Linked DNA regions of Homo sapiens: region 2 is linked to region 1. Evidence: promoter capture Hi-C in 16 types of primary human blood cells and fetal thymus (Javierre and others, 2016). All regions are on one chromosome and are shown on one strand. The core of a region is centred on a gene start or on the middle of the fragment in contact, and the rest is flanking DNA. Distances in the headings are between cores, read along the strand shown.

Region 1 (4,628 bases), core at 1,243-3,742:
AAACACCCTGAAGTCTTCCGGTTTGCTAGGTTCTACCAAAGCTTGACATCGTTATGCTTTTGACTTGCCCTCCATCACCTACCTTGCCCACTTGTAATTGAGTCAGATTAAACAATGCGTTTTCCTGTGTTCTGTGTTGTTTTTGACTCTATTGAATCATTTAGCATCACAGCTGCATATCTGACTCATCTTCCTCCCTGGAGGGGAGCACTTCCAGGGTAGAAAATTGAAAAGGGAGATGGAGTGCCTGCTAGAGAGCAGACAAAAGTCAGAGCAGACAGATGAGGCTGACACTCAGGCTGACTCTTAAAATTGGTTCCCCTCCAGCACCTCACAAATCACACGTCCTTGGCAAAGCAGTGCAGATTAAACAAGCCAACTGTTGTTTGCACGTCATGAGGTGGACCACATTTCTGCCATATTTAATGCCCGAATGACTGTGCTGAGCTAGGCCTACCCATTCAGCAGTTGGGGGCACACACTAGAGACTACATATTTCTGAGATGAATTTATTGTGAGGGAGCTTTACAGATAGACTGTGCTTCACAGATAGGCGGTGGTTTCTTGAGTGAATGCAATGGTTAAAATAGCTTCTAATAAATCTAGAGCCAACTTCAGGGCTACCTAGATAACTAATTCATACATTCTAAAAGGCTCGTTTTGACCCAAAGTTTCTCAGCCATAGAGGCAAAAACAATAATTACAGTAATCTACAACTTATGCAAATTCTAAAAACTGTGCTTGGCTCCTCATCTTCAGGTTCCTATGACAAATTTATGGTGGACTGAATGTTGTGTCCCCACCCCCAATTCAGATGTTGAAGCCCTAATCCCCATTGTTGATGGCATTTGAAGATGGGGCCTTTGGGAGGTAACTGGGTTAAGGTCATGAGGTAGAGGCCTCAAGATGTCATTAGCGTCTGGGTAAGAGCCATCAGAGTTCATGTGTTCTCTCTCTCCCTGCCAGATGATGGCACAGTGAAAACGCGGCCATCTGAAAGCCAGGAAGAGAACCCTCGCAAGAACCCAACCATGCTGGCATCCCAATCTTCAACTTCCAGCCTCCAGAACTGTATGAGAAAATACATTTCTGTTGTTTAAGCCACTGTCTATGGTACTTTGTTATGACAGCCAAAGCTAAGACAAAACTCATAGAAAAAAACTTCCAGAAAATGATTTTCCCTCCCTCCAGGTAGCTAAGAAAACAGTTGCAACTTCTTGCCCTCATAGCACTTCTCATTTTCCCAGTTCTTGTATCCACTGGCTTGCTCAGTGTCTGTCTCCCGCAGGTGTCATGTCTGCAGAGGGCCTGGGGAGCAGAGATGTTGCTTATCTTGTTCATGCTGCAGCTTCACCTGCAACAGTGCTTGGGCCATAGCAAGCACTTGGTATGTTCAGTTGTTGTTGGGAAGGGGTAGAACAAGGAGAGGCCAAGATCCAGAAGTAAAAGGCTGATACCTCCCTCAAGGCAGTAGCCAGCAGCTGGGACTTCAATCCTAATGGGGGAGGCAGCTGAACTCCAGAGGCCTGTGCCCTCCCTTCCTTTCCTCCCTGGCCTGGTATCCTGACTTAAACCTCTTTCCCTATCAAACTTTAAAACTGGGGGCAGAAGCGGATCTTAGAGATAATCAAATGCAAAACCTTTGTTTTACAGATAAGGAATCTGACATTCAAGGAGGTATTCAGTAGAGTTAACATGTAGTAAAATCGAGTTTTCCTCTTTTGTTTCCTTAGTCCTGAAAGATGCTGATGCCTGGCATGATGCCTGGCAAAAGACTTACCTTCCTTTCCATGACTTCTGTACCAAATTTGTCAGTTGAAGCTTATCTATTTCTGCTATCTTGAGAGTGAGAATTCTTGATTGAGACTGCAAATAAGTAAGCACCCACCACATGCAATTCCGGACTGAGTACACAGAAAGGATAGCCAGTTCTTGACTCAGAAGATGCATTAGTGTGACTGATGCCTAAGGAATTTGTCCTAAATCTTGTTTTAAAAGTATTTCCATTAGCTTTTTAAAACGTACTATTAAATGCCACAACCCCCTACCCTTACTATGCTTGTTTTTCAAAATAGTGCTTTTTACTAGACAAACCCTAAAAAAGCACTTGGAAACTTAATGATGAGAAATGGCCCTTACAAAAATAGCTGGCTTCCTCTGGGTCCAAATGCTGTTGATTAGGACCAGGGCAAATGCCCATTGTACTCAATCTTCCTGACAACTCATTATTCCATACTGAAGAAATGGCTTCTCGAAGCAAAACCTGCTCTTTCAAGATCATAAAATTCCCCATATCATTTGAGTTAAAATGAAACTAAGCCATTTGAGTTAGATTACCCAGATTTATATCTTTAGCTATTAAAAACTGACAGGCAAGCTAGGCAGTTATGGATACATCTTCTGGTAACTGAGGATTATTTGCCAAGGTCTCTTACCTGCAAGACTGTAAACATGCATGTTGCTCCTATCCAGACAAAAGCTTTAGTAGGATACTAGTGGCCTGTTAGCTGCCAAAGTCACCTCACTGCTCCCGATAAAATCTCTGCACATCCTCTTTGATGTAATCCACAGATGCCTAACCCAGCCTAACAACTAAATTACTCACAAGCCTTTCCTGCCACAAATCTTCTTAAGTATTCCTTGAAGTCTAATTTGTATCATTTTCAAACCTACATTCTAGTATTTTCTCTCAAATTGCCAACACATAGTTAACGGCAGAAAAACATAGTATTTTTGTTGATTAGTTCAAGATGACAGACATTCCACAACAGAAGATAGCATTTTTAATGAAAGAAAAAAATGTGGCAGGACCGGAAATAAGCCAATAACCTACTAACCTTATTAAATCTCTCATGTTATGGTGAGAAAACAACTGAAGACTGTTCAGCTAATAATAGAAACCCATCAAAAACAGTACCTTCTGGTCAATCCCCTCCCAAGCCACTGTTCTGAACCTAACAAATAGTGCTTTCTGTCTCAGATAGGAGCTACTTCTTTATCTGAAAACTTAATACTGCAGGGAGTGCTCAGTGGGGAGAGCATTTGGAAGGGGATATTGCAGAAAGGAGAGGAAGGTATTGCTGACAGCAAGGCAAAAGGTAGAGACCAAATGGCAATTATCAGAGGGTCCTCAGCCCTTCTACCCATATTAATCACATGGCTTTCCTTATCTCTCCATCATAGATGAAAACACAAGTTGGGAATGTGATACATTTGTGTTTTGAGTACAGCATATTTTGTGAAAAGCACTTGATTTCAATAAGATTTTCATTTTTAACTCACTTTTAAGAACTTTCAATACATAACCAGCTATGAAATGACATCTCTGGCAGCTGTAGTAGCAAAAAGCACTGGACTTCTAGGGAAGTAGGGAGTAGGGAAGTTCTAGGCTGGAGTCCCAGCTCTGGCAGTGAGCAAATCTTGGTCACTGCTTGTCTGAAAAATGGGGGGAAATGGGGATAACACCTGCATCCTTGGGCTGCTGTAAGCATTCATTACGCATGTGAATGACCATTGTAAACTGCTGCAGGAGTGCCAAGGACTTCTATTTACAAACATTGGCCTGGAGATTTAGGGTTTTTCTTCCAATACACTTCAAAATTTATAACTTTAATATGCTATCTGAAAAGCATATAGTAGGAAGAATCCAAAGTAACTGAACAGTTTCATTCAAGACTCCAGTAAAAGGACGAATTGTAACATGGCTTTTCTTAGAACAGAGACAGCCTATCATCATTGGAAATCTTCTCAATGGGTCAATTTGTCTCAAAGTTTTTGTTTGTCCATTTCCACATATTATCCACCCCCGCCCAGAGTCAGAAATTCTGTAAATTTGGCTTTACCAGGCAAATGTGGTTATTTATGTGTTTGTTCAGAAACTCAAAACAATCTCCAATGTAAATGCAAAGTATTTAACATAAACGGATTTTTAAGGGTTGGTCCCCTTCCAACAGAGGACAGGCACATTCTGGTAGAGGCAGCAACAAGATGGAAAGGCCTCTTGAGAAAACATTACAACTGGGAGATAATTAATATCTAACGTTTCTAAGCAGAATTTTAAAGCCTCACCTTCCCTTCCCTCGATCTGTTTAGGAGGAAAAAAAATAACGAGTAACTATCAAAATATGCTTTTTATTCAAAGAAATAATAGATTTCTTTGGAGACCCGTGTCCTTGGGTTATTGGGGTCAGAAAGTTAATTTGCTCTTTGCTAGAAAGGGTGCTATAACTATTGGTTTACGTTTATTTTAAAGACAGAGATTTCTAAAACCCCAGAGGGACTTTTGAGGCCAATACTTAGAGGCATGGATTACAATGTGGGCTAAAGAAATACTAAGTCTGGGTTTCCTTTCATCTTTTAGGCTGCCCTGTTCATTTCTTCTACAATCATAAAACAACCACATAAAGATGAATGCCTTTTATTATGAAAATTGCTGTTACATTACAGCCAACATTCCAAAACAGTATTTTAATAAACACTTGTCTTGATTATAAAGTAGAGCAAAAACCATGATCCTTTTTCAAAAGTAATTAACATCTTCTCAGTCACTTAACACAAATCAGGACACTCTGTATGCTCACCACGGTGTAGGAGATGAGATGAGGAAGAGCACCTATGTTATTCAAAAC
Region 2 (4,628 bases), core at 168-2,667, 240 kb before region 1:
TAATAACAGCAAATCCCCCACCCCCACCCCTTTGCTGGGTGCAGCTGCTGCCTTGACCTCAAAATGTCTTGTAAAATTATCTCTTAATAGTCTGGTGTATCTAAGGCAAAAATCTCTGAGATTAAACCACCCCATAGGGACAACCCTTTTATTACTAACAATTCTTACCAGATTGTGTCTGTTTCTTCTGAGCTTTTCTGAAAAAGAGAAAAAAATAGACAACGTAATGGAGTTTCACATTATTAAGACAAAATCAGTAACAACTTGCTGACATTGAGTGAAAAAAGCAGGATACAAAATCATGATAACCAGAAAATTTGGTTAATCATGACATCCATAACCCTTCTGCTTGTGGGAAGGTCAGCTACAAGTGGCCAGGGTCTTGTCTGCCCTGATTACCAGCGGGTGTCCACAGTGCCTGACCCATGGTAACCACTCATTAAACACTTGTGTAATGATTACTTGGCTGTTAACAGATTAACAGTGTATTGACTATGATGTGTAGTTTCTTCATTTACTTGGATATCTCCTTAGAATAGATCACTCCGGGGAATTTTACTGGGTCAAAAAGTATGAATATTTTCATGGTTATTGAAACATTTGACAACCTGCTTTCCAAATAAACCTTATAGTTTTGTACTGCCATCAGTACATTTGAGTGTACCTTTCAAAGCATAGTTCAAGCTGATACAGTGTTTGCTAATTAGGGGCACTTTGAGATGTAACTCATTTGATTTCATTCACCCTGGAAGGTTGGCAGGGCAGGCATTGCTTTCCTCCTTTTGCAGCACAGCAAACTCCAGTGCTTTAAATTGACGGTAATGAATGGTAGGTGGCTAAATGATCACAGCCTTTCAGGTCCGTCTTCCTCCCAATCTCTACCTTTGGTTCATAGTGAACATCCTGAATAAATTCACCTCTTTCTTTAGCAATAAAATTGGATATTGCTTTATGGTTTTTATGGTTTACAAAATCTTCCCTTTCTCATCCTGCTCACATATTTGTAGATGGGTTCATCAAATTTGGGGAGTTGAAATAATGAAGCACAATTTAGATGAAAGAGATGATGTTGGTTAGATGTAAAGGGATGCTCTGAACCCACAAACTTACAAGATTGCCACCCTTTCTATTAGTAAAGGTCTGGAAACCGTGGATGGTGCTTTTGTATCTCCTTGAATTAATTTCCTAGTCTGTTATTCTGATTCTTTCCCATATTTGCTGGTCAGGGACCCCAAATGATTTAATACGTAATTAATCCAATAAGAAAGGGCTTTGGAAAGTCTCAAAGTTTAGTTGTAATATGTGGAACCATTGAAAATTCTTGGGGTTTATTGTAAGTGACACTGTTTATATCAAAAGTGGGCCAAAAATTGGTTTTCTACATTGCTTTCAAATTTGCTCAGCGTTCTTTAAAAAACAAACAAAAAACAGTATAGAAAAGATAGGGAAGGAGAAATGCAAACATATTGAGGCTTTGGAAATATTCAGGACTTCTTTTTGTTTTCACTCTGCTTCTTGGTTGTGATGTCAGATCACAAATAATGTTCAGTAAAAAATAAATGCTCTTTAAAGATACTTTTCAGGAATGTCTCCTTGTGTCAAGGAGTAGCTGCCTAAATATTGGGTATCAGGGAATAGCTGCCTAAATATTGGATGGGTTTAAGGCAACTGGTTCTTTAAGGAACTTTTATGTGAATCTAAATTATTTTGCTTTTGTTTTTTATAGTAGGATATATCTGCATCTTGAAAGGAAGATAAAACAAAAGCCTTCTTTGGAATAGATGGATTTTTGTCACTTTCTGTGTGAACTAAAGTGATTCAATGTCTCTTTTGGTAAGTTTTTGTAAATATAGATCTGATTTTGTTCTGTCAGAGTAGTTGGATGTTAATGCCAAGCCATAATAAAAGGCATATTCTGATGGGATATTCTTATGCTCTGAGATATTGTTTTGACCTGATTGACTTCTGGACTTGAGAAATGAATTACATTCTCATTGAGTTTTTCTTTCTTTCATAAAGAACTTCTCGTATACTTCAATATGTTCATTATTCTAATCTTTTGTCCCATATCTACTTTTTCTCATAGGTGTTATACTTTGATATGCCACCCACACCAGTTAGCTATGCCTTATCTTTTAAATCTTTCAGAAATTCCTTTTACAAATTTCCATCTGACCAAAAGCAAGCCAAACAGTATTAAAAATAACCCCTTTGACTTAACCGAAATAAAATCATTTGGATCAATGTATATATGAGGTATAGCTGCCAACTGGTTTTCTATTTATATTTAGATCCGTGGTATCTACTTTAGATTAAGTAGCTTGAGGACTTTCATCCTGTTTTATACATAATAATAATATTTGAATAGGGAATACTTATATTAAAATGTGGTTTTTAAAAAAGTAATGAGTAGACCACGTGTAGTGGCTCACACCTGTAATCCCAGCATTTTTAGGGGCCAAGGCTAGAGAATCAGTTGAACCCAGGAGTTCAACACCAGCCTAGGCAACATAGTGAGATCCTGTCTGTATAAAATATTAGCCAGACGTAGTGTCATATGCCTGTAGTCTCAGCTACTCAGAGGGTTAAGGTGGGAGGATCCCTTGAACAAGGGATCAAGGCTGCAGTGAACTGTGATCATGCCATTGCATTCCAGCCTGGGTGATAGAGGGAGATCCTGTCTCAAAAAAAAAAAAGGATGAGTATATTTGTATGATGATTTATAGTTTACAAATACTTTCATATATTTCTTTCATAGTTTCAAATTGTGTAAGTTTAGCAGGGCAGGTGGCATTATCCTCATTTTCAGTTTGTCCAAGATTGCAAAAAGTTGGAGCCAGACTCATACCTGCCAATCTATTCTATCAATTACCAAGGCTGAGAGGCAGAACTATGAAGTTAGAAGACTGGATTGTTAGTAATATGGAAAATACATAACACAGTTACTTACATGTTTAAAGTAAAGCATTACCACTTGAAAGAGAAGCTTTATATATCTGGAAAATACACGGAGGTGAAATGTTTTATTCTGTAAAGGAGGGATCAGCAAGCTTTTCTGTAAAGGCCAGATAGTATTTACAGACCCTTTGGTCTTTGTTACAGCTACTTTTCTGCTGAAATACTAGCATGAAAGCAGCCATAGGCAATATATAAATGAATGAATGAATGTATCTGTGTTCCAGTAAAACTTTACTCACAAAAACAGGTGGTGGGTCAGATTTGGCTCATGGACCATAGTTTGCCGACCCTTACTCTAAAGGATTACTTAAGATTTACAATTTTATATCAATTTTTAAGTTGGAAAAGATGTGAAAGGGCATTCAGTCTATTCCCTTCATTTGATAGGCGAGAATTGTGAGATTCAAAGGGCTGTGTGTTGCCCAGGGCTTTCAAATTTTGGAAAAAGAATATCTTAGCCTATTATTCCATAATTATGGGTTTTGTGAAAAATAATAGAATGTGATAATGGGTGATTTATATCGTTAATGATTGTAACTTTAAATCACATTTTTCTGCAATGGTGAAATATTTTAAATTCTTTGAATCGAAATATTTACTTTTTTTCCTTAAACGAGAAATTTGTGCAGTTGGGATAAAGTTGATACTTTTACTTAAGGATTCCTCCCCATTCAAGTTTTACCCTCTATTTGAGAACTAAGAAATGCTGTTTTCAAAGGAGCAGCATATGTAAAAATATCTTCTTTCAGTTTCTTTGTAAGGTCTAACTACTTTTTACTTGGCTATTATGATAATGGATAAAGAAATTATATTCAAAAATATTCAAAGGGAAAAGGTATGTGGGGTGAAGTTCAGAGGAAACCAGGCACAAGCTTTCAAGAATCTTTTCTCAGTGGAGTTCCATAGTATATGCACAGTTCCCCCAGAGTTGTGACATGTGAAATGTTGTCTACTAGGGAAGCTCATTAGAGACTTGGACTTAAGGTTTTTATTGGGGACTTGTCACGTAGGCGTGCTCTGCTAGCAAGTAACAAAATTCCAGTCTCCCAGAAAAAAAGCCAGGTGTTCAGCATAAACTGTATTATTTGCACAAACAGTTTAGACACAGTGAGCGATTCTTATGAAGGGAACCTCTGCAAAATCCCAGTTCCCAGATACTAGCCAAGGGTCAACCTTATAAGCAGCTATTTTCTAAGAATAGCAGTTTTAGGCCTGCTGTTAATTCTTCTTTTGCACAGTGGTATTAATGGTCGTTGTGAAAAATTCAAGCTAAATGTTGTAAAAATATATAAATACCAAACAATATATAAATGTCCTGCCCAGCTGGTGGATATTTTCAATATGAACAACAGTAATAAGTATCTTCAAAAACTGTTTTATTATAAATGTTATTCACCCTAGGAAGCCATTAGAAACTCTGCAGAGGAATCAGTTGTACAGCTATCTTGACATTGTTAGCGTCTATTCTTCAGGGTGAGTTTTACATAAAACAGTGGGAATATATACCAAATTTTTGTAATAGATTTATAAAGTATACAGACTGTAGGAATTCAAGTTAAAATAATCAGTAATGAAGGCTAACTGGGACAATGACTAGTTTGATTAGTGAGAAATTCTGGCATATCTTAAAAGGAAATTTATATTTAAGTAATTGACTACAAAGTGTTAAG

What was found. Contacts are between HindIII fragments. The CHiCAGO score rates a contact against its expected background, and 5 or more counts as called.
Region 2: a contact is called between a fragment that was not itself captured here and the fragment with the promoter of MPP4 in region 1, in 1 of 17 cell types (endothelial precursors). The highest score is 7.0, in endothelial precursors.

Annotation. Positions count from the first base shown.
Region 1 is chr2:201,696,152-201,700,779 of GRCh38, forward strand. It overlaps MPP4 (MAGUK p55 scaffold protein 4), which reads right to left and starts at 2,493. Exons shown (of 22, transcript NM_033066.3): 1 at 2,436-2,493. ALS2 (alsin Rho guanine nucleotide exchange factor ALS2) reads right to left here. Exons shown (of 34, transcript NM_020919.4): 34 at 4,116-4,628. RefSeq lists enhancers at 3,123-3,624, 3,625-4,124. The HindIII fragment of the contact is 2,266 bases long and covers 2,478-4,628 here.
Region 2 is chr2:201,453,020-201,457,647 of GRCh38, forward strand. It overlaps STRADB (STE20 related adaptor beta), which reads left to right. Exons shown (of 12, transcript NM_018571.6): 2 at 1,727-1,833. The coding sequence starts at 1,822. Among named protein-coding and RNA genes, the nearest start is that of STRADB, 3.6 kb to the left of the region's middle. The HindIII fragment of the contact is 3,133 bases long and covers 1-2,984 here.